Linked DNA regions of Homo sapiens: regions 1, 2, 3, 4 and 6 are each linked to region 5. The links are contacts of gene promoters, found by promoter capture Hi-C in blood cells and fetal thymus (Javierre and others, 2016). All regions are on one chromosome and are shown on one strand. Each heading gives the region's core, a stretch centred on a gene start or on the middle of the fragment in contact. The rest is flanking DNA. Distances are from core to core; before and after follow the strand shown.

Region 1 (4,124 bases), core at 52-2,551, 3.8 Mb after region 5:
TGGGATAGTTGGCTAGCTATATGCAGAAGAATAAAAGTGGACCCCTACCTTTCATCATATACAAAAATTAACTCTAGATAGATTACAGATTTACACAGAATGCCTCAAACTATAAGAATCCTAGAAGAAAACCCAGGAAACACCATTCTGGACATTCACCTTCGGAAGAGAATTAGGACTAAGTACTCAAACACAATTACAACAAAAACTGAAACCTAATTAAAGATCTCAAAACAGCAAAAGAAACTATGAATAGAATAAAGACAACCTACAGAATAGGACAAAATATTCACAAACTATGCATCCAACAAAGGTCTAATATCCAGAATCTATAAAGAAATTAATTCAACAAGTAAAAAATAAATAATCCCATTAAAAAGTGGGCAAAAGGCTGGGCACGGTAGCTCACACCTGTAATCCCAGCGCTTTGGGAGGCCAAGGCAGGCAGATCACAAGGTCAGGAGTTCGAGACCAGCCTGGCCAATATGGTGAAACCCCATCTCTACTAAAGATGCAAAAATTAGCCGGGTGTGGTGGCGGGCGCCTGTAGTCCCAGCTACTCGAGAGGCTGAGGAAGGAGAATCGCTTGAACCCAGGAGGCGGAGGTTGCAGTGAGCCAAGATGGCGCCACTGCACTCCAGCCTAGGTAACAGAGTGAGACTCCGTCTCGAAAAAACAAAACAAATAAACAAATTTTAAAAAAAAGTGGGCAAAAGACATCAACAGCCACTTCTCAAAAGATATACAAGTGGCCAAAAAACATGAAAAAATGCTCAACATCACTAATCATCAGAGAAATGCAAATCAAAACCACAATGAGATATCACCTCACATCAGTGAGAATGGCTATTACTAAAAAGTCAAAAAAACACAGATGCTGGGGGAGGTTGTGAGAAAAGAGAATGCTTATACACTGTTGTGGGAATGTCAATTAGTTCACCCACTGTGGAAAGCAGTCTGGAGAGTTCTCAAAGAGCTTAAAACAGCTACCACTAGATCCAGCAATCCCATTACTGGGTATATAGCCAAAAGAAAATAAACCGTTTTACAAAAAGAAAAACATGCACTCATAAGTTCTTTGTAGCTCTATTCACAATAGCAAAGATATGGAATCAACCTAAGTGTCTATCAGTAATGGATTGGATAAAGAAAATATGTACATATACACCATGGAATACTAAACAGCCATAAAAAAGGACGAAATTATGTCCTTTGCAGCAACATGGATGCAGCTGGAAGCCATTATCCTAAGTGAATTAACGCAGCAACAGAAAGCCAAATATGGCATATTCTCACTTATAAGTGGGAGCTAAACACTGGATACTCACAGACATAAAGATGGCAACAAAAGACATTGGGGACTAATAGACGGTAGAAGGAGGGTAAGGGCTGAAAAACCATTAGGTACTATGCTCACTTACCTGCATGATGGGATCAACAGTACCCCAAACCTCAGTGTCATCCAATGTACCCATGTAAGAAACCTGCACATTACTTATATCCAAAATCTGAAATAAAATTTGAAATTATATATTTTTTAAAAGGCAAATACTTTAACATTCCACTTATACGAGGCACCTAAAGTAGTCAAAATCAAAGAGACGGAAAGTGGAATGGTGGTTACCAGAGGGAGGTGGAAGGGCAGGAGGAGATGAATGGGGAGTTACTGTTTAACAAGCAGTTTTACAAGATAAAAAGTATTATGGAGATGGACGGTGGTGATGGTTGCACAACATTATTAATGTATCTGATACCACTGAACTGTGCATTTAAATGGTTAAGATGGTAAATTTTATGTTACGTGCATTTCACCATGCGAATTTTATGGTATGTAAATTATACCTCAAGCTGTTAAAAAAAAACCTGTGAGAAATTCAAACTGCCCATCCACCTCCCACTCAACAGAAACAAAAAACTGTCTGAACAAATAATTCCAAAGGATTATAGCATAGCTACTATTTCAATTGCAACTTATAAAAATGCAGTAGGTCCCTGTACTATTCAGTAACTACTAAACACACACACACACACACACACACCACAGCTGAAGACCACAAATAAAGCCATTGCACCTAGTTAAGTATTCATTTGAAACGAAAAAAGAAAATGCAGCCAAGTTTAAATTTTGTTTGCCTGCCACTGACTCCAAGATCCTTCCAATGATATCAATTTTTGCCTTAGAAAAATTAAGTTTCATACAGTTCAGCAATTTAAGTTATCCAATATCGTACCAATATTCTGCACCTACATTTATGTGAAGTGTTAGTTTTCTGGTTTCTGCCTTATTTTTTCCTAAAGAAAACATACACTGGTATAGGCCAGATGCGGTGGCTCACACCTGTAATCCCAGCACTTTGGGAGGCTGAGGCAGGTGGATCACCTGAAGTCAAGAGTTCAAGACCAACCTGGCCAACATGCCGAAACCCCATCTCTACTAAAAATTCAAAAAATTAGCTGGGCGTGTTGGTGGGCGCCTGTAATCCCAGCTACTTGGGAGGCCGAAGCAGGAGAATCACTTGAACCTGGGAGGCAAGGTTGCAGTGAGCCAAGATGGCACCACTGACCTCCAGCTTGGGTAACAGCGCAAGTCTCCATCTCAAAAACAACAATAACAGAAAACAGACACTGGTTTAATCACTAGAAAATGTCTCTAACATTTTCTAAATGTATTTGACAAAATATTTTTGCACATTTCTATCAACCGGCACTCAAATGTGTGCCTTTACAATTCAGAAACAAGCTTATGATGTACTGAAATGATTTCTTTAATTGACAAATACCTGAGAAGACACTTGACTGAGACAATATTAATAGATGCAAAGATGTATATAAGCCTAAGTACATAAAATGGTACATATTTTCCTCCCTCTATAACAAGTTTACCTCAAATACATATGCTATTGTCAATCAGGGTAGGGTACCAATAAAACGTCTTCCCTTCTAATTCACATTATTTAGTTTTACTTTGAATTGACAAATAATAATTGTATATATTTATAAGGCCCTTCTACTTTCTTAGCCTAGATGACTATGTCAAAGAATAAAATGGTTTAATTTCATTTCCTTTTCCTATTCTTGGTAAGAAGCTACTACTTAACCTAAAGCTCTAAACACTCACCTTATCCCTTATCCAACAGATTCCTTGCTTTCCCCATCACTCCCTTCTTTCTTCTACCACATATTTTTAGCTAGATATGTTCTTCCTCCCCTTGCCCTCTACCTACCCGTCACCTATGCTCACTTCCATCCACTTTGTGTCACTTGGCTTTGCCTAAATGTTGGTGCATACACAGATGTACTGCTGTATTCTGGGGTGTAATATGTAAGGTACAACTGTAAAAATGGCAATGTTCTCTCAGAACACATGTAATTAAGTGCTGATGTCTTCCAGCACTCACCTTTAAAAGACTATTCTAGTAACACAATTTAACTCAAAATATATTTAACAAACTGAAGAAACGCTAAATACGTATTCCATATTCTTATTCTTAAAATTTCTTCAAAGTCATAAGAAGATATCAACGTTATTAGTTTAGAAAATAATTTGTTGAACACTTGCCAAGTGCTAAGCACAAGTCTTACAATGCAATAACCTTATGAAACGGGTAGCCTTTTAAATTCAGTTGAACCATGAGAAACTGTCTTTTTATAGGTCAAAATATGCACTGCCCACATTTTCATAGAGAAACTAAGCCCCAGGTCACACAGTAGTTAGCTGCAAAGTCACAACCCAACATAATCTCTAACCATGACAGATTTTTAATCCATGTTCAAAATAGGAAAGACAGGCATTCACAGCAGTTTGTGAATGAAATACATTCAGATGGAAAAACTATTTCCCAAAGAGCTTCTGATTGACTACAAGTTCAAAAGGTAGTCATTCTAGGCCCAAGTTCCAAAGCAGCCAACGTAATACTATCCTGTAAGTGTGGAAATAGTGAGTCTGTCAAGACACAAAAAAAGAGAAGAGTATTGTATTTGTCACTAGTCAGCTACTCACAAGTTACATCATTTTGGTTACTAATCTGAGACCTAAGTCTCTCTTCCATAAAATGGAATTTGCTCTTGACCTATATATCTCAGTGATGGCATGGGTTTAAAATAACTTATGTGAGGCTGGAAGC
Region 2 (3,939 bases), core at 522-3,021, 3.9 Mb after region 5:
GGTGTTCCCGGAATTGTTGTGGTGCCGGTGGGTGTGTGACTTAGTATGTTAATGAGTCCTAGGTGAAGCCTAGGTCAAAGCCACACCACGTTGGGTCCAGTTGGTTTTAGCCAGGTTGACCCACACCCTGGTTTTTCAGGGTCTTAGCCCATAGCTTGTGCAGCTATTTCAACAGTTTCCTTTTGTTAGACAGAACTGCAGCCTGGAAGTTTCTATTCTCCTTCAACTGCTCTGTAACGTTCCTGTCTCAAAGAGCCCCAGGGACCCCAAACAGGACCGGCAGAATCCAGAAGCTTACTTAAAAAGGAATAAAGACTTGTCCAAGGGTCATAAGTGGCTTCTTGGTGGAGACTGGACCCAAGCCAGTCACTAATGCAGAAATATTCAAAACGCAGAGAGCTGAGACCCAGTGTGCACAATTCCTTGTTTCATCGGCCAGCGGTGTGACCAAGGCCTTCCGAGAAAAGCCGAAGTCATCATCCCAATCCAAGAAGTCAGAAAAAAATTAGGTTCTGGGAAAAACCTCACCTTTAACACAGATTTTATGGAGTGGCCATGAGTCAGCAAAGAAATACTGTTCTGAAAAACACCTTAAGCTACACACACACCTTTAGTACTGTTACAGAAAGGGCTCCCAATCCAGACCCCAAGAGAGGGTTTTTGGACCTCATGCAAGAAAGAATTTGGGGAGAGTCTATAAAGTGAAAGCACGTTTAATAGAGAAGTAAAGAAAAAAAAGAATGGCTTCTTCGTAGACAGAGCAGCAGTATGGCTTCTCGACTAAGTGTACTTATAGTTATTTCTTGATTGTATGCTAAACAAGGGGTGGATCATTCAAGAGTTCTCCAGAAAAGGGGCAGGGATTTCCTAGAACTAACGGTTCCTCCGCTTTTTGGACTATAGGGTAACTTCTCTGGACGTTGCCATTGCATTTGTGAACTGTCATGACGCTGGTGGGAGTTGTTTTTTTTTTAACATGCTAATGCATTATAATTAGCGTATAATGAGCAGTGAGACCTACCAGAGGTCGCCATCTTGGTTTTGGTGAGTTTTGGCCAGCTCCTTTACCGCATCCTATTTTATCAGCAGGGACTTTGTGACCTGTATCTTGTGCCAACCCTAGCTCATCCTGTGACTAAGTGAGGCAGGTGAATCACTTGAGGTCAGGAGTTCGAGACCAACCTGGCCAACATGGAGAAACCCCCGTCTCTACTACAAATCCAAAGTTTAGCCAGGCATGGTGGCAGGTGCCTGTAATCCCAGCTACTCAGGAGGCTGAGGCACGAGAATCACTTGAGCCTGGGAGGCAGAGGTTGCAGTGAGTCGAGATCACGCCACTGCACTCCAGCCTGGGTGACAGAGCGAGACTCTGCTTCAGAAAAAAATACAAATAAAAAGAATGCCTAACCTCCTGGGAATGCAGCCCACCAAGTCTCAGCCTCATTTTACCCAGCCCATATTCAAAATGGAGTTGTTCTTGTTCAAACACCGGAAACAGTACCATAGGGTGCACACCATGGAGTGTGTGTGTGTTTGGGGAGCCCATACGTTGTTGCACTGAGCTTCTGCCCTGCTATGAACTTAGGGTTGCCACCACATCTGTGCAGTGGCTTGCAAGGGCCGTCATGCCCACTTTCTTTTGAGCAAATCATTCCCATCTATTGAGCCTTTGCTATGTGCCTGGCACTATGCACACATCTTTTTAATCCTCTCCAAACCTCTTTCTGGCAGGTGTTACACTCATTTCATAGATGAGGCTCAGAGGTGAAGGCACTTCCGAGGAGTGGGATCGGGGAGGCGTTTTTGTGGCTTAAGTAGCTCCTAGGTGGCAGTAGTAGACCTTGGCCTCTACACTGATTAGAAAGCAACTCTTCTTTTTTTCTTTTTTTTTTTCGAGACGAAGTCTAGCTCTGTCGCCCAAGCTGGAGCGCAGTGGCGTGATCTTGGCTCACTGCAACCTCTGCCTCCCGGGTTCAAGCAATTCTCCTGCTTCAGCCTCCCGAGTGGCTGGGACTACAGGACCACGTGCCACCACGCCCGTCTAATTTTTGTATGTTTAGTAGAGATGGGGTTTCACTATGTTGGCCAAGCTGGTCTCGAACTCCTGACCTTGTAATCCACCCACCTCGGCCTTCCAAAGTGCTGGGATTACAGGCATGAACCACCGTGCCTGGCCAGCAATTGCTCTTAAGCTCTGCTCCGCTTGCTTTCGTTTGGGATGCTGACTGGATCACGCTGGTCTACCCTGCACTACAGATCTTGGCTACCTTCTCTAATGTCAAGATGTTGTTTTCTATTGTTGTTTCATTACAAGACAGTGCAGCATCGTGCCACTTACACCCTAACATATTTATTCTCAGCTTCACTAACTCATGTGATGGGAAGAAAAAGATCACACATCAACATCAACATATGGGCTACAAAAAGGCCCTTCCACCAAAAAATATGACATGTGTTTTTCTTTTGGTAAAAAGCATTGAAGACAGTCAAAATTTTTTTTCTTTTTCTACCTAGTAATCTTTGTAACCTCCTGGTTTGAGATTTTAAAGGTCATCTCGTTGCCCATTGAGTATAAGCTCTGGAAAATTCCAGGTGGTCATTTCTTCCAGGTGTTTTGAGAGGGGCCCATTCATCTCTTTGAGCTGATAGACATATTTTCCTCTTATAACAATACAGTAGACTGGGTGCGGTGGCTCATGCCTGTAATCCCAGCACTGTGGGAGGCCTAGGTAGGCAGATCACTTGAGGCCAGGAGTTCAAGACCAGCCTGGCCAACATGGTGAAACCCCGTCTCTACAAAAAAATACAAAAATTACCCAGGCATGCTCTTGTGTGCCTGTAGTCCCAGATACTGGGAAGCCTGAGACACAAGAATCATTTGATCTTGGGAGGCAGAGGTTTCAGTGAGCTGAAATCATGCCACTGCATTCCAGCCTGGGCAACAGAGCAAGACCCTGTCTCAAACAAACAAACAAACAAACAAAAAAACTTTTATAAACCAGTATTCCCCATATTTATTTGACCCAGAAACATTTTTGGAGGAATGACACCTGTTCTGGTTTGAATTGTGGCTCCTAAAGAGGTATGTCAAAGTCCTAAGTCCCAGTTCTTCAGATGTGACCATATTGGGAAACAGGATCCCTGCAGATGTATTATAATTAGTTCAGATGAGGTCACCCTGGACTAGGGTGGGCCCCTAATTCAATATGGCTGGTGTGCTGAGAAAAGGAGAAGGAACACAGGCTCCCAGCAAGCTTCTTCCCATCTGGGAGTGACACATCTAGAAGCCAAGGGACACCAAGGCTGGCTGGCCAACACCAAAAGCTGGAAGAGGCAAGAAGGATTCTTCCCTAGAGCCCTCAGAGGGAGCATGGCACTGCCAACATCTTTTTTCTTTCTTTTCTTTTTTTTTTTTGTGAGACGGAGTCATGCTCTGTCGCCCGGGCTGGAGTACAGTGGCACCACCTAGGCTCACTGCAACCTCCGCCTCCCGGGTTCAAGGGATTCTCCTGCCTCAGCCTCCTGAGTAGCTGGGACTACAGGCGCCCGCCACCACACCTGGTTAATTTTTGTATTTTTAGTAGAGACAGGGTTTCACCCTGTTGGCCAGGCTGGTCTCGAACTCCTGGCCTCAAGTGATCCGCACGCCTCGGCCTCCCAAAGTGCTGGGATTACAGGCGTGAGCCACCATGCCCGGCCACTGCCAACATCTTGATTGCACACTTCCAGGCTCCAGAGCTGGGACAGAATGCATTTCTGTCGTTTTAAGCCACTTCGTTTGTGATACATTGTTCTGGGAAACTAATACAGCATCCATTAGCATCTCTCAGACAGTTTGAGAAGCCCTGAACTAGAATCATTCAAAAGCAACCCCCAACGGACTAAAAAGACGAAATAATTAGTCTGTGCAGGAAATTTTCCAAACTCCATGTAATATTT
Region 3 (4,077 bases), core at 457-2,956, 3.9 Mb after region 5:
CACAAACTTAACAGGCCCAGAACGTCCAGGGAGGACGCGTTGTGAGCCTCAAAGAGCCCACTTACGTGACCGACAGCACCAGGCCGACGGGCACTCGCTGAACTGCTGGCCCGGAGCAGCACAGCTCTTAAGTGGGCAGTGGCATCTTTTATACAAATAAAGGAAGGTGGCCCCACGTCCCTAAAACAACAGCTTGCTGAAGAGAGATCGCAAAGCATCCCCCACTCCAGCTCGGGTCTGACTCCAAAGCCCTTCTGCTTTAGAAAGTGTGACTATTTCTGCTGTAGAAAACCGGTATCTAGGCCAGGCGCGGTGGCTCACGCCTGTAATCCCAGCACTTGGGAGGCCGAGGTGGGTGTATCACCTGAGATCAGGAGTTCGAAACTAGCCTGGTCAACATGGCGAAACCGTGTCTCTACTAAAAATACAAAAATTCGCCGGGTGTGGTGGCGGGCGCCTGTAATCTCAGCTATTTGGGAAACTGAGGCAGGAGACTGGCTCGAACCCGGGTGGCGGAGGTTGCAGTGAGCTGTGATGGCACCACTGCACTCCAGCCTGGAGAGCAAAACTCAAGTCTCAAAAAAAATTTTGGTATCTAAGTTCTCTAGCACTGTGATTGCTCCAATGAGACGGATTCAGCTATAATTCTATTCCAACTTTTTTCATACGTGTAAGCTTAGGTACCTTGTTCACATAAATAGGAAGATGCAAATAAAAGGGGTTTTATTGTATCTCAAGCTAGTAAGTATTAACCAAAAACATTTAAATGTTTTATCAGTTGACAATTTGTTTTGGTCTTCCTTCAGATCTATTGAAAACAGCTGGGCACCGTGGCTCACACCTGGAATCCCAGCTGAGGCAGGAGGCTCCCTTGAGCCCAGGAGTTGAAGGTTGCAGTAAGCTATGATTGTGTCACTGCACTCCAGCCTGGGAAACAGTGCAAGACCTTGCATATTAGAAAAAAGTTTCTGGGAAGTATACCAAAAGTCTTAACTAAGATTTGCTAAATGAATATTAATTAAATAACCTAACGGCAAGTACATGGGGAAGTTGGAGGATCTAGAACCTGACTTCCTTCACACTAACTATTCCTGCATTTAGCAGGTAAAAGCCCGATAGCATGATTGAGTGGAAACATGAAGGGACAAGGGTTTGGCTAGTTATGTTTATAAAAAGTCAACATAGGAATTGAGTCAAGATACCAGAAACTCTACTTATAGTAAGATCCCACTTTGCAAAAACGGAGAATGGAAGCGTACAGAACTGTACCTTCTCCTCAATTTTGCTGTGACTGTAAACTTCCTCTAACACATAAAATGTATTTTAAAGAAAAAAAGCCAGGAGTGGTGGCTTGCGTCTGTAATACCAGTTACTCACAGGAGAGGCTAAGGCAGGAGAATCACTTGAGACCAGCTTGGGAAGTGTCACAAGACCCCATATCTATTTTTTAAAATTAAAGGGAGATGGGTGGGTGCGGTGGCTCACACCTGTAATCCCAGCACTTTGGGAGGCTGAGGCGGGTCAATCACTTGAGGTCAGAAGTTCAAGACCAGCCCAGCCAACATGGCGAAACCCCATTTCAAAACCCTAATACAAAAATTAGCCGGGTGTGGTGATGGACGCCTGTAATCCCAGCTACTCAGGAGGCTGAGGTGGGAGAATCACCTGAACCCGTGAGGTGGAGGTTGCAGTGAGCCAAGATCGCACCATTGCACTCCAGCCTGGGCGGCAGGAAAGGCCTGTTGCAGGGAAGAAAGAGGAATTTAATCCTGGTGTAAAGAAAGGCACCTCTTTAAGTATGGGAAGGAAGGTGTGATTTGGTCTGAAAGAACACAGTAAAAAAGACACGCTTGTAGTTAGCATAATTTTTTAAACTGTGCTCTTTTTAGTAGCCCCAGAAAAACTATAGAAATTGGAAAAATTCAGCAGCTGGGCGCGGTGGCTCACGCCTGTAATCCCAGCACTTTGGGAGGCCGAGGCGGATGGATCACGAGGTCAGGAGATCGAGACCATCCTGGCTAACTCAGTGAAAGGCCGTCTCTACTAAAAATGCAAAAAATTAGCCGGGCGAGGTGGCAGGCGCCTGTAGTCCCAGCTACTCGGGAGGCTGAGGCAGGAGAATGGCGTGAACCCGGGAGGCGGAGCTTGCAGTGAGCCGAGATCGCGCCACTGCACTCCAGCCTGGGCGACAGAGCCAGACTCCATCTCAAAAAAAAAAAAAAAAAAAAAAAAAGAAAAAGAAAAGAAATTGAAAAAATTCAGAAATTCTGATTTGCTGAGGAACTGATCTGAATGGCCAGCCTCATTTTCATAGTAGTATGCCCATGCAGAGCTCCCTAGTGGTTTATTAAAACCTAAAACTGGCCAGGCGCGGTGGCTCACACCTGTAATCCCAGCACTTTGGGAGGCCGAGGCGGGTGGATCATCTGAGGTCAGGAGTTTGAGACCAGCCTGGCCAACATGTCGAAACCCCATCTTTACTAAAAATACAAAAATTAGCTGGGCATGGTCGTGGTCCGGGTGCCTGTATTCCCAGCTACCCTGGAGGCTGAGGCAGGAGAATTGCCTGAATCCGGGAGGTGGAGGGCCTGGGCAAAAGAGCGAGACTCCGTCTCAAACAAAACAAAAAACAAAACAAAACCTAAAGCTAACGACAAAACTACCTGGGAGGTGATAGCAGAAAAAAAATTTAACACTTGCAGGGTAACCTATTCAGTTTCTCAAGTTTTAGTTACTAGAAAGCTTTCTTCAAAACTTCTATTAATCTGCTCTACTAATGCCAAAACCATTCAAAAGGAATATGAGGTCATGAAAATTAAATTCCCTGGATTCAGTCAATTTGGAGGGCCATTCAAAGCCTGTATTTTTGGCAGCACTGTGACATCAATGACAGTGGATTTGGCTCTGTGTTCTAAATAGTGGAAGAGCAAGTTGCCAAATGTTCTGCTCTTTGAAAAAAGAGGGGTTGTTACAGAGCAAGTTATGTGTGTCTTTGGCAGGAAAAGGGAAAAATAAAAAACTGCCCACCTTCTTCAGAGACTATAACCACTCACGGACTTTCATACTCTAGAATGGCCACTTTTGCTTCCCACCTTTATTTAGAACATTCAACCTCCCCCTCTTCCCTGAGATTCCCATTAAAAATTTTTTTTTTTTTTTTTGAGACGGAGTCTCGCTCTGTTGCCCAGGCTGGAGTGCATGGCATCATCTTGGCTCACTGCAGGCTCCGCATGTGGGGTTCATGCCATTCTTCTGCCTCAGCCTCCCAAGTACCTGGGACTACAGGCGCCCGCCACCATGCCCGGCTAATTTTTTTGTATTTTGAGTAGAGACGGGGTTTCACCGTGTTAGCCAGGATGGTCTCGATCTCCTGACCTCGTGATCCGCCTGCCTCGGCCTCCCAAAGTGCTGGGATTACAAGCGTGAGCCACCGCGCCTGTCCCATTTAAATATTTTTATAGTAAAATTTGCTAAGGGACTGATTAAGAGTAGACCAGGAAATATGAAAATCATTACCACGACCACCCAACTATTTAACAAATTTCTTATCCTATCACCTTTCATACCTGTGAAATGATGGTAGTAATCGATGTGTCTAGAGAACTTTCAAAACTAAAGGGTAAATCTATGTAATTATTACTCATCCCCATCTATTTTCAAAGCAGACAGATCAATTAACATGATTGACAATTACGCAATATAGACAATCATCCAGGATACCTTGGATACTTTTTTTTTTTTGAGATGCGTTCTCACTGTCACTCAGGCTGGAGTACAGTGGTGTGATCTTGGCTCACTGCAGCCTTGACCTCCCAGACACAAAGTGATTCTACCTGACTCCCAAATAGCTGGGACCAGAGGCACATGCCACCATGCCAGGCTAATTTTTATATTTTTGTAGAGACGGGGTTTCACCATGTTGCCCAGGCTGGTCTCAAACTCCTGGGCTCAAGAGATCCACCCACCTTAGCCTCCCAAAGTGGTAGGATTACAGGCGTGAGCCACCACACCTGGCCAATACTTAAGATTTAAGGGTACAAAGATATAGTTCAGCAGTGATATGGCTACTGGCAGAGG
Region 4 (4,113 bases), core at 1,366-3,865, 4.1 Mb after region 5:
AGTACTTATCAAATATTTACATTGTGTAGAGAACTCTCCCTGGTTTTTGACTTTAAAAATGGCAAACACAAATTAACTAAGAACAGATAGAGAATACAGTTCAGAAAACATTTATTTATTTTATTTTTTATTTTTTTTGAGACAGAGTCTTGCTCTGTCACCCAGGCTGGAGTGCAATGGCGTGATCTCGGCTCACTGCAACCTCTGCCTCCCGGGCTCAAGTGATTCTCCTGCCTCAGCCTCCTGAGCAGTGGGGATTACAGGTGCCTGCCACCACACCTAGCTAATTTTTGTATTTTTAGTAGAGACGGCGTTTTACCATGTTGGCCAGGCTGGTCTCGAACTTCTGACCTCGTGATCCGCCCATCTCGGCCTCCCAAGAAACATTTATTAAGTGTCTGATATTCAGGTGTTTTTCTTTTTTTTAATCCCTCCATCCATCCAACATTCAGTTAGCACTATTACGCACCAAGTACTGTGCTTGGTACCTGGAAATCATGCTGAGCTACAATAAACATAGTATAGCAGGTGACATGGATAAATAAACCCATTATAAAAAGTTTCTTGCTCGAGCAATGTTCAAAATACAGCAACTGCTTGGAGAAAGGAATGTCAGCTGCTCACAGGGATACTGGGTAGGTATCATGGAGAAGATAAGTCCAAGCTGCTTGTCTTGTGTGTTTCTTACCTTTTTAAATATATTTTTCGGCCGGGTGTGGTGGCTTATGCCTGTAATTCCAGTACTTTGGGAAGCCAAGGTGGGCGGATCACAAGGTCAGGAGTTCGATACCAGCCTGGCCAACATGGTAAAACCCCATCTCTACTAAAGATGCAAAAGTTAGCCAGGCATGGTGGCACATGCCTGTAGTCCCAGCTACTTGGGAGGCTGAGGCAGGAGAACCACTTGAACCCGGGAGGCGGAGGTTGCAGTGAACAGAGATTGCACAACTGCACTCCAGCCTGGGCAATAGAGGGAGACTCCATCTCAAAAAAAAAAAAGAAAGAAGAAAATATTTTTCAACATCCACAAAAATATAGAAACAGTACAATGAATCTCCACATCCCCATTAAACATCCACAACAATATAGAGACAGTACAACGAATCTCCACATCCCCATTACGTGGCTTTAACAATTAGTAACTTGCGGCCACTTTTGACTCATCTACACTCCCATCTGCTTCCCCATCCCTTTGTTTTGTTTTGAAGCAAATCCTAGACATCTTTATCATTGCATCCGGGAACACTGAGCTGCATTTACAGAAGAAAGTGGAAATGCATGTGTCTTCCACAGCCGTACCCTCCCCATCTATTCTGCCCTGAAAACAGTTAGATACTCGGATTCCTGCCAGTGACTCCAAAGCCTTGGCTGGTTCAGGGTAAATACCCAAGACTTTATTGGAGCCTTTCAGTTGGTTGAAGGACAGTGAAAATTCCATCCTGTCTTGCCTGGAATGCTAGCCACATTCTTCTGGTCCGGAGTCCTCATACAATTGCTAATTTTTTAGAGGCTTATGGAGTCCCTAACGTTTGCACAAAATGGTTGCTACATTCCACACTCCCATGTGCCCTGAGCAACCTCCAGGGAAACTTCAGATACCGTGGGGCTTGGCCTGCCAGCTGAGCTGACCCAGCGATCCTTTCTATCACAGCTTTGATCTTCACTGGGTTGGGAGCCTGTCTGAATCTAAACATCTGCCTCTCTACTGCCCACCCCTTCAGCATTTCCTAGCTCTCCCTGAAAGGTGCAAACATGCATGCAGTTACTCAAACAGAATATTTATCCTTAACTCCCTCTCCCTCACAATTTCTTTTAAAACAATCCACTATTGTCTACCCCCGCCCCCGCATCACCCTTTCATCCAGGTGCCCATTCCCTTCTCTCTAGTCCTGCAATACCTAAGCATCGATCTGCCTTTAGCACATCCATCCCCGCCTTATTCTCCACGCAGGAGCTGAGTGACCTGCACAAAATCCCCTGCTAAATACGGTACTTCCATGGTTCTTCACCACTGCAGAAACCAAACTCCTTCCCACACCAAGGAGGCCCTGCAAAATTTAAGGCCTCCTTCGGACTTCTCCAGCTTCATCTGCTACATCTCCTTCCTAGCCCGCAACCAAAACCATCTTTTCCGGGTCTGTTTTCTCGGGTTTTTGTCCTCTCACCTGGGCAGCTCCTTTTCTCTCATAAATAAAGAAAGCTACAGCGACTTCGCCCTTGCTTCCATGCATCATCTCATGAGTCCACAACAACACTAAGAATTCGCTTTCATTTTGCAGACGGAGAAACTGAGGATGGGCACCTTACCCATGGCCACAGAGCTAGTAAGTGGAACAGCTGCAACCAGGATTCAAACTCGCGGCTCCAGAGGCCACAGGCTTAACCACGGAATCCTAGCCCGCCCGCACATCCCTCCATCGCGGGAGCGACCTATCTCATCCGTAGACACCTTCCGCTGCACCCAGCCGCAGCTGGTCAGGCGGGCGGAGGAAGGAGGCTTCTGATTGGCCATCTCCAGCAGCGGAGGCGAGAAGGCGGGGAGCGACGGTGCGGGGGCGTCGCGGAGAAATGACTTCATGACGCGGCTTCTTAAAGGCGCCGGCCCAGCGCGCCGCGGATAGCACAGGCACGTCCCGGGGGCTCCAGCTTCTGCTCAGAGCGCGGAGAGCCGGGCCGGGCGGGCGCGCGCGCAGGACTCGGGCCGCTCGAGGGGTCCGGCCGGACGGTGTCGGGAGCCGGACCCGTCGGCAGAGGAGCGGGCGCCGCGATGGCTGAGGGCAGTGCCGTGTCTGACCCTCAGCACGCCGCGCGTCTGCTGCGAGCGCTCAGCTCTTTCCGCGAGGAGTCTCGCTTCTGCGACGCGCACCTGGTCCTCGACGGGGAGGAGATCCCGGTGCAGAAGAACATCCTGGCGGCGGCCAGCCCGTACATCAGGTGGGGAGGGGGCTACGGCGGGCGGGCGCGGCGGTGCTGCCCGGAGCCGGAGGCGGGGCGGCCGGGCCGGGCGTGGCCCCCAGACCCTGTCCCCTGTCCCCGGCGCCGGGGTCCCCGCGTCACCGTTGGCGCGGCGTCCCTCCCGGCAAGCGCCGGAACCCGGCCCCGCTGACCGCGTCCCCCAGGCGGCCTCTGTGGCTTCCAGGCCCGCGCTCCCCACTGGACCCCCGCGCCCCTTGGAGTTGTCCCCGGACCCGGGCCGCGATCCCCCGCCTTGTCCCTCCCGGTTCCCACCGCCGCGGCGAGCGCCCGACCTCGGAGACCCTGAGGCCCCCAGACGCCGTCCTGGGCCGGCCGGGACCCGCACCTGCGGGCTGGGCGAGGCCGCGCCGGGGAAGAGTCACCCCCTCGCCCAGGCCGGGCCCGCGGTCCCCGCTGAAGTTCGCCAGTCGCTCGCCTCTGAATCCACGCGCGGGGGCTGGGCCGGCGCCGCCAACCAGGCGGGGAGCGCCCTGCCCGCTGGGAGGCCAGACAGACAGCGCCTCGCTGGGTGCAGGCAGAGAAAACCCTCTCGATGTTCTCCTTGGGTTGGTAGTCCGAACCTCCGGGCGAAATTCTCCTTGCCAAACGTGTCTTTTCCGCTCCATTCTGGTAACTGTTTAAAAGAGGAGTTACACGTTGAAGTAAACTGTAGCGAATTCTCAGGATGCTGTTACAACCCGAGGACCGTGAGAGCCTTGCGACAAAGGGCATTTTAATACTTTAGTAAAGCAAAGCTTAACCTGATTTGCCAACTCAACTAACCAGGTTAATTAAAAGGTTGATAAGACAGTGCTTATACAAGTGTATCAGATCTTGCAGGAGACTATCTTTTCTTTTAGCAACCTTCTTGCAAACTAGGTTGCTGTTTTAATAAAAGGAAAGGGGGGAATGCTAAAAACTGGAGAAACTGACCAGTAAGCTGGTTAAATATAAGCTAGTGGTAGAGAATATCACTACAATTGACAGGTCAGAAAAAGCAAAATGATGTGTATTCTTAGCGCTTTGTCCCAGCAAAACCACCACGCACGCTACACTTTTAACCTTTGCATTGGGGAGATATCTGTGCTAAACTTAGAAGAAATTCAAGTGCCCTTGTAACTTCTGGTTTCTCTTGGATTTGTTTTGTGAATCCATTTG
Region 5 (4,125 bases), core at 987-3,486:
CTGGAAAACAATCTTTAAAGTTCACAGAGCACATCAGCAAGAATTTTTAAAAGGAGCCTAATTGTGATATGGTTTTGTTGAAATACAAGGCAGGTGTAAAAGGAAAATAAATCTCAGGACTCCAAAATTACTAAGCCAAAGGTAAAAGTCAAGCTGGGAACTGCATCAGGCAAACCTGCCTCCCAGTTTATCCCTAAATAAGATATTTACAAAGATAAAGCTACATACTTCCCTCATAATTTGCCCTCTAGGGATTCCTTGTGGGCTGCAAGATCTTTACCCTAAAACGGTTCTGTTGAATTTTACCCTGACAACGTAAATTGATAGTTTATCTTCACAGGTGCGAGACAAAGGAGCGAACCCCAAGTCATCCCTCTGCTCACCTGAAACAAATGCATATCTGATTGCTTCCTCTGAGGTAAAAATGCAGATTGACAAAGCTAGATGAAGGCGTAACTATTCCTCTACTCCCCTGATAAGGTTTGGATCTATGTTCCCACCGAAATCTGATGTCGAATGGTAATCCCCATTATTGAAGGTGGGGTCTGGTGGGAGTTGATCGGATCTTGGGGGTGAATCCTTCATGAATGGTTTAGCATCATCCTCTTGGTGACAGTGACTGAGGGAGTTATTGCGAGATCTGGTTGTTTAAAGTGTGTAGCCCTGGGCTGGGCATGATGGCTCACTCCTGTAATCCCAGCAATTTGGGAAGCTGAGGCGGGTGAATCACCTGAGGTCGGGAGTTCAAGACCAGCCTGGCCAACATGGCGAAACCCCATGTCTACTAAAAATACAAAAATTAGCCGGACGTGGTGGCGGGCACCTGTAATCCCAGCTACTCCAGAGGCTGAGGCAGGAGAATTGCTTGAACCCGGGAGACGGAGGCTGCAATGAGTCAATAACATTTTGCCATTGCACTCCAGCCTGGGTAACACAGCGAGATTAATAAATAAGTTTGCTTATGAGATGTTATTTTATTGTACTTTTTTACATGTTTATTATATATTATATACTTCTAAATGTATTAGGTAAATATATTTTGTATGCACATAAATTTATCCATTGTTTCTGTTATATAAATTTAATATTTATTACTTATCGATTACCTATTGTATATAAAGCACATGATGCTACACTGGTATTTGGAATTCATTACCCTAACTATACTGTAATTAAAATAATTATCCTAACTAGTACCAAAGGCTTCCCCTTAGCAATCACTCGAAGTGTGCCAGCACCTCCACTCACTTCACGTCAAGCGATTCCCATCATTGTTTCACTGATGGAGAAACCAAGGCCCAGGGCACTTGGGGCAAGGCGTTCAGGGGGCTTTCGGTCCGGAAGCAGCGTCGGGGCGGGAATTCGAACCCTGGGTTCCCACACTGGCCCGTGGCAGGGCCCCCAAGCCTTTTCCCAAACTGATCACAGAAAGTGACGACCCGTTCGCCCGGCGGACCGGGGGCGTCGGGCAGGTCCTGGTCCAAGTGAGTGCCCGCCCCTGCCCTGGGCTGGCAGAGTTCTTCCCCCAGCTGCAGGTAGACGTGGGAACCCGGCAGGGTACGGAGCTGCTGGCGCGGCACGCTGATTAGAAGCGGCGACTGCCCGTCAAGCATTCGCGCCTCTCCCCTCCCTTGACTTTCTTGGCAGGGTTAAGGGATAAGAGAAAGTGGAGTTGCCTCAGTTCTGGGAGAGCCCGTTTGTGGGTCCGGCACAGGTATCCATCGGGACTGACGCTGCAAAAGTCCTCTTGTGAAACAAGGAATAGGCTCGAGTCTTCGATTGGGTCGAGGGAGACGTCAATCAATGGATGGGCGTGTGCAAACGCAACACAACGCACAGTATTGGTTAGGATTTGGCGGGGGGAGTAGACAGCGGGGAAATGAGGCGGCTCATCTCGATTGGCCCAGAAAGAAGACGGTCGCGCCCTATGTACTCCGGGATTGGCTAGAGCGAGCCGCGTCCCCCCTCACGCCAACCACTGGTAAGCGAAGTGGGCCTCGCTCTCCCGGGTTAGCAGCCGTAGCCAGATCCGTTGAAAGGAGTGCAGAGAGGTCTCATTGCGCTCCCGAACAGACCTGACGTAGATCCGAAGTGGCCCGCGCCATCTCAACTATGAGGGGACACCCGTAGGCGGCGGGAGAGGGACGCCGCGAGGAGCCAATAAAGCTCCGCAACCGGAAGTGTCTTCTGGGAGGGGTCGTACCCGGAAGTGTGGCACCTCCCGGGCCGCACCCGGAAGTGTGATGCCACCGCCGCTACGGGGAAGTAATGGTATCCGGCCAATTGAGATTCGGAGTTAAAACAGGTGTTTGTATATCTCTATTTCCTGAGGCCCAGTAGAGTCTCCTCTTTTCGGAAAGTGTTGGAGGGGGGACGTATTTGGGCATGATTTTGGATGTCTCGTCCTATTGAAATCCGTGGGGAAATGAGCAGTAGGAGTGTGTCCAAGGGGGCCTGACTCTATAAAGGCTTTTCAGAAGTTTCTTTCACCGCCCGTCACCCTCGATTCCCCTCCCACTCAGGGATGTGCAGATGGAGGTCGGAGGAGACACTGCTGCCCCGGCCCCCGGGGGCGCGGAGGACTTGGAGGACACGCAGTTCCCCAGTGAGGAAGCTAGAGAAGGTGGAGGGGTTCACGCGGTCCCGCCGGATCCCGAAGACGAGGGCCTGGAGGAAACAGGTATGACTCCACTTAGTGGGGTCTTAAAAGGAATCCTTAGGGGTTGTCATTGTTGGACGGGGGAAGGGTCAGTGGGTGACCAGTAGGGAGTCTTGGGACTTAAGAGAAGTGGCTTAAACCATCGCCGGGTCAGGAGGAGGTCACTGTGGACACATGGTGTAGTTTACATCATTGAGGAAGTCATTGGCTGTCAACGGATGTTCACTGGGGGTTTGGTGTGAGTTTAGGTCATTGAGGAATCAAAAAGGGGGCTGTTAGGACCAAAGAGGGTCACTGAGGATTTAGAGTGTTTAGATCAAAGAATGCGCTGAAGAAAGTCAATAGACTCAACAGAGGAGGACTGTTGAGAAGTTAGTGTTTTTGAGGAGTAGGGTGTTATTTATTAAATAATAGAAGTGGGAAGGGGAATCAGTGGAGTTCGATGGGCACTCAGAGTATTTACATCATTGAAGTCACTTGTAGACTGTTGGGGAAGTCTTTAAGGGACCAAATGTTAGTGGATGTGTAAAGTTGTTCATTTGAGATTTAATGGAAGTCACTGAGAAGTCTGTGCCATTGATCACTTTGGAATTAGTGGATGTAAATGGAGTCATTGGGAAGGATCAGTGGACCTCACTGAGAATAAATGTGGATGGGGAGGTTGAGGACTTGGGAATTAATAGCAGGTAAGAGCAGTTATTAGGAGGGAGTAAAGATATTTGGGGACATGGGAGTGTCAGTGAATGTCAGTGACAGAATATGCAATTATTGGGATTTTATGGGAAAATTATTGAGACATAGTTGCACATGGATAATAATGGTTGTCATTGGGGGATGAATGGAAATCAATGGGAATAAATGGATGTGTCAGTAGGGGCTGTTGAAGTTGTGGGTTTTAGTGAATGTTAATGATGGTCATGGGTAGGGGCAATGGAAGTCATTAAAGTCTTGTGTGTTAGTGGATATTATGATGGTTACTGTAGGGAGGGGAGTGGATACCAATGAGATTGAAGGTGGTCAGGGGAGTGACTGAAGGTCTCTGAAGTGCTGGGTGTTAGTGGAGGTTAATGATGGTCATTGTTGGGGGTAGGGGGGAGTAGACATGGAGTAGAATAACTTGTGGATCAGGGCAGTCATGGAGGGTCATTGAAAAACCAGGTGTTAATGATTGTTAATGTGGGGTCATTGGGGTGTTTGTGAACCACAGTGGGAGTGAATAGTGGATTAGGGGAGTCCTAAATATCTGGGTGTTAGTGGATATTAACGACAGTCATTGGGAGAAATAGTGGACATTACCAAGAATATAAATGGGCAACCAGGAGAGTTAGTAGGGGTCATCAGGTATCAGTGGGCATCACTGATAGGGTAGTAGCGGGGGTTGGGGCATTCAAACAGTTAAGATATTAATAGATGTTAATGGTGGCCATTGGGTGAGCAGATATCAGGAGAAAAAATAGCGGTCAGAG
Region 6 (4,318 bases), core at 264-2,763, 3.4 Mb after region 5:
GATGGAGAGGAAAAAAAATCAGACCCTTAGAGAGAAGGAAGAGGTGGGACAGGGAAAGCAAGGGAATGGAAGGGTGAGAAGGGAAGATACTGAGAAAGAAGAAAGGGAAATAAAGAAAAAGGAAAGAAGTGATGGGAGACCCGCCCCCCTCCCCCCCAGAAAAAGAGGTAAGAAAAAAAAAAGTAGAGACTGTGGAAAGCAAAGGGCGTTAAGAGAAGAATGAAACGGGGATTGGAGATGGGGATTAAGAAATTATACTAGGAGCACTTACAAATCATGAGAAGAGAAACAACTGGGTGGAGAAATGGAAAGGCCAGGGAAAGAAAAGAAAGGAGTTTGGGAGATAAGTAAAGGGAGAAAGATAAATAAGGACACAGTGGCTGTAAGAAGCTGTGGACATCGTCTTAAAGATTGCCCAAAATGCAGTGAATTATTGATCCCCTGTTCAACGCTTACGGTTTAGTGTAGTGTTTCTCAAAGTCAGATGCAAACATTCGTTGCTACATAAGATGGCCGAGAAATGCTAAATAAGAGTGAATCACATCGTGAGAAAGTTATTCCTCTTCCATTTTGTTCAACCTTCAGACTACATACAGGAGAAAATTTCTGTTGCTATTAGGTCCTTAATACCACTGTCATTTGGAAATTTCCATTTTTTCATCCGAAGAGCAGGCCTCAGGCTCAGAGCTTTCATTGCAGTAGAATTTAATGATAGGCTCTCTCTTCATTTTGTTCATTTTGTTTGTTTTACAGTTATTTCTATTTATGAGGAATAACGTCAGGTTTCCATTTGTGGTAGTGACATACGATTTCCTCTTAAAATGCATTTATTTAAGCTTTTAGCAGTGAGATAATTTAAAGAACACCTAGATAAATAGTATACATGGCATTCATAATGGCAAGAATCATGAATCTAGTACACAAATGCCTAAAGTCAAGAAAACCTTGGCTCTGATGCTGAAATAGAGAAAATAAGTGCTCCTGCCCATACCAAGTACAAAGGAAAACTATCTTGAAGTAACAAAATGTTCACCTGTGCAATACTGAGGAAAAAAGAATATAGCAAACCCTCATCAAGAGAATTTGCAGAATTCAAAATATCCAGTGATTGCTCAGTCATGAAAAATTTGCAGGTTTGGAAAAGATCGTTCTTGTCTTTGAGTTTTCTACAGGGGAAGAAAACATACAATACACTCTACACATAAGATTCCGAATGAGTTTAAAACACAATAATAGATTCCAGAATAATCACTCATAGTTGAACATTCAGCTTGCACTGAGACGCAAGCTATAGTTATCAAGAAAATCCTAGAATCCTGGAATACTTTGTTTTTATAGACTATCCTTTAAATTTAATCATCCGAACTGATTAGGTCACATTAATGAAAATAAGATTTCTCAATAAGGACTACTTTTAGACAGAGGGAGGCCATGATATAGCTCTATAAATATTTAAAGCACTGTAATGTAGAAAAGGAATTTTCATTTGAATACAGCAGGGTCAATGAATGAAAGATAATCTGGGACAAATTTCCATGCAATGTAAAGAATACTTTTCTAGTAAATGGAAACAGATAAAAATGGAGTGAACTCCTGTGAGGCAGTAAGCTCTCTGTCTCTACAAGGGTTCAAGCCAAGAGATTCATCAGGATTGTATCCAGGAGGTCTTACGTAGGTATTTATGTGGGACTTGACAATTTCTAAGCTGTCTTTTAAAAATCTGAGATTATCACACCTGGCACCTTAGGTTAAGGAGATAGGAGAGTAGGTATCTTGCTAAACATTATTCTCCTTAGGGTTGAAGTTACCACAGGGCCCTTTTGGTTAATTATCTTCCTGGTCTCTTTCAGGCAGAGGTGGAGGAAACCTTAAAGAGGATCCAGAGTCATAAAGGGGTTATTGGAACTATGGTTGTAAATGCAGAAGGTAAATATATCACAGGCTGTCTTCTTGACACACAGAAGCCAACCAGGAACCTGTTTGCCGTGTTAGTCCTTAAGACAAACATCTTCGAATTTGACATCAAAAATATATTTATATATTTTAGCTCTGGCATTCACTTACCAAACATCTATTGAGTATCTGTTATATGCCAAACACTCTGCTAAGATCTGGGGGCATAAATATGAATAAGACATGTCTAAAAATCTCTATATACTCCTAAGAAGCACTATACATTGTTTACTTTTTAAAGCTTTGGTAATTCTCTTCCAACATTTCAGAAGTGCCAATAAAACTATCATATAGAAGATAGGGAGAATATCATTGTTGGTGGGTTGTTTGCGTTTCAACATTATGAACCATACAGAATTTCAGTGTTTATTTTAAATGGAACTTGTTCCTTGAACATATTTTATTTAAAAATCTTTGAGAATTAACGATATCATTTATAATATAGTCTTTGTGGATATAGCATAAGAAGGCCCTACATATTTCCAACTATGAAATCTGTAGACTTACCAGAAACTTGCTCTTGCTGCACGATCCTTGTTAAGAATCCACATCACATTTACTTTGGCACATTGCTCCACGCTCAGCTATGGTGGCAACCTCTTAAGAGTTCATGCTAGTTTCATTGCTAATTCAGACATTTGTAAGGGCAAGGAGTGCCAGAAATTCCAGAGCATTAGTTAAAATAAGAGTAGCTACTTTACATAATTTGTGGTGCAACCATGGAATTGGCCTATTACCAACTCAGTGCCTTGGAAAAATCCATCAGTAAATATTTATTAAGCAACTACCAACTGAAAGTCTGCTTAAATTCTGAACTACAACTCCTTACCACTAAGAATGGACAATAACCTATTTTACTGGGGGTTTTCATTGTTAAATGAGACAATAATTGTTGAGTGCTTGGCATAATACCCAATACTTGATAGTAATTAAATAGTTATGAGAATGTGAGGATTTTTAATTCATTTATACAGTTAAAACATTTGTTTTATAACCAGCAACTCAAGGCCAAATGAGTGAGAGAGATAATAGAACATAATAAATTTTCGAGCTTGAATAATCAGGGGGAAGAGAGGATTTAAGATCTGCCTTCCAGGTAAGTCACAAACTATGCGTAATATTTCCAGGAAGCATTCCAGCCCTAGTACGTGGATCTGGTTGCATTGATTTTATTTCCAGGTATTTGCATACACTCTGCCACAGCTCCGAAGATGAGCCGTCCATGTGATTTCATAGAGATGGTGTGTTAGTTTCCTTTGGCTACAGTAACAAACTACAACATGCCTGTTAACTTAAAACAACAGAAACGTATTCTCTTCCAGTTCTGGAGGTTAGAAGTTGAAATCAAGATGTCCGAAGGCTCATGCTGTCTCTGAAGACTCTGTGGGAGGACCATTCCTTACCTCTTCCTAGCTTCTGGTAGTTGTCAATCTTTAGTGTTCCTTGGCCTATAGACACATCACTCCGATCTCTGCCGCCATCATCACGTAGCATTCTCATCTTTGTGTCTGTCTGTCTGTTTCATTATAAGAACCCCAGTTATTGGATTAGGGCCTACCCGAATCCAATGTGACCTCATCTTAACTAATTATATGTGCAAAGACCCGTTTCCAAATAAGGCCACCTTCTGAGGTTTATATTGGACTTGAATTTGGGGATTTGGGGGGTCTAGGGGGACACTCTTCAACCCTGTACAGGTGCATTCACCTGTGACAGCCAGAACCACTCATCTAATGTGATTCTTTGGAAGATCTTGGTCTAAAGTAGGTAATCCTGGTGATATGCCTCAAAGGTCTGAAAAATATTCACCCCCTTTGATCTATAATTTTACTCCTAGCAATTTATCCTAAAGAGTGATGAAGAAAATATCTAGGTATGAGGATACTCACTGAGGCATCATATATAATAGCAATAAATAAATAAACAGAAAAAATAAGTAAATAAATGTATCCTAACAGTAGGGGAATTTTTAAAGTAACTAATTTTACTTGATGAACATTACTCTATTTAAAAGGTTGAAGACTGTTTAGTGTCTTGGGAAACTACTCACAGTATTAGATGAAAAAAGCAGAGAACAAAGCGGTCACCGGCATGTTCTAATCCTATTTATGGCCAGGTGCACACATACACTTCAAATAAATAGGAAAGGAAGGGTAGGGATATGTTACAGTGATCACCCTGGGTAGTGAGATGAAAAGTGATTTTCACTTTATTTTCCTGAGGTTCCTCAATTAACACTTCTCTTATCCGAAGGCAACAAAATATTATTTTCAGTACCCATTAGCTTCTTTTTTTTTTTTTTTTTTTGAGATGGAGTCTCTCTCTGTCATCCAGGCTTGAGTGCAGTGGCAGGATCTCAGCTCAC

The links. The method cuts DNA at HindIII sites, captures the fragments that hold promoters and counts their contacts. A CHiCAGO score of 5 or more calls a contact.
Region 1: a fragment that was not itself captured here is called in contact with the fragment with the promoter of MON1B in region 5 in 2 of 17 cell types (neutrophils and naive CD8 T cells); the score reaches 5.8 in neutrophils.
Region 2: a fragment that was not itself captured here is called in contact with the fragment with the promoter of MON1B in region 5 in 1 of 17 cell types (non-activated CD4 T cells); the score reaches 8.2 in non-activated CD4 T cells.
Region 3: a contact is called between a fragment that was not itself captured here and the fragment with the promoter of MON1B in region 5, in 3 of 17 cell types (non-activated CD4 T cells, naive CD8 T cells and activated CD4 T cells). The highest score is 8.1, in non-activated CD4 T cells.
Region 4: the fragment with the promoter of GAN here is called in contact with the fragment with the promoter of MON1B in region 5 in 1 of 17 cell types (total CD4 T cells); the score reaches 5.1 in total CD4 T cells.
Region 6: a fragment that was not itself captured here is called in contact with the fragment with the promoter of MON1B in region 5 in 1 of 17 cell types (naive CD8 T cells); the score reaches 5.7 in naive CD8 T cells.

The regions. Positions count from the first base shown.
Region 1 is chr16:80,999,827-81,003,950 of GRCh38, forward strand. All of the region lies in intron 1 of CMC2 (C-X9-C motif containing 2), which reads right to left. Among named protein-coding and RNA genes, the nearest start is that of CMC2, 5.0 kb to the right of the region's middle. The HindIII fragment of the contact is 2,873 bases long and covers 1-2,738 here.
Region 2 is chr16:81,096,960-81,100,898 of GRCh38, forward strand. It overlaps the pseudogene PKD1L2. Among named protein-coding and RNA genes, the nearest start is that of GCSH, 2.5 kb to the left of the region's middle. The HindIII fragment of the contact is 2,961 bases long and covers 292-3,252 here.
Region 3 is chr16:81,077,526-81,081,602 of GRCh38, forward strand. No RefSeq gene overlaps it. Among named protein-coding and RNA genes, the nearest start is that of C16orf46, 2.3 kb to the left of the region's middle. RefSeq lists enhancers at 1-136, 1-24, 137-795. The HindIII fragment of the contact is 2,067 bases long and covers 674-2,740 here.
Region 4 is chr16:81,312,347-81,316,459 of GRCh38, forward strand. GAN (gigaxonin) reads left to right here and starts at 2,616. Exons shown (of 11, transcript NM_022041.4): 1 at 2,616-2,934. The coding sequence starts at 2,768. RefSeq lists an enhancer at 2,453-2,652 and silencers at 2,663-3,002, 3,143-3,202, 3,223-3,492. The HindIII fragment of the contact is 5,241 bases long and covers 1-3,708 here.
Region 5 is chr16:77,188,954-77,193,078 of GRCh38, forward strand. It overlaps MON1B (MON1 vesicular trafficking associated B), which reads left to right and starts at 2,237. Exons shown (of 6, transcript NM_014940.4): 1 at 2,237-2,305; 2 at 2,523-2,680. The coding sequence starts at 2,533. It overlaps LOC124903725, which reads right to left and starts at 1,613. Exons shown (of 1, transcript XM_047435021.1): 1 at 955-1,613. The coding sequence starts at 1,613. The coding sequence ends at 1,269. RefSeq lists enhancers at 1,955-2,903, 2,029-2,318, 2,339-2,388. The HindIII fragment of the contact is 24,724 bases long and covers 1-4,125 here.
Region 6 is chr16:80,541,426-80,545,743 of GRCh38, forward strand. It overlaps DYNLRB2 (dynein light chain roadblock-type 2), which reads left to right. Exons shown (of 4, transcript NM_130897.3): 2 at 1,851-1,926. The region is part of intron 1 of DYNLRB2-AS1 (DYNLRB2 antisense RNA 1); the gene reads right to left. Among named protein-coding and RNA genes, the nearest start is that of DYNLRB2, 2.6 kb to the left of the region's middle. The HindIII fragment of the contact is 1,358 bases long and covers 835-2,192 here.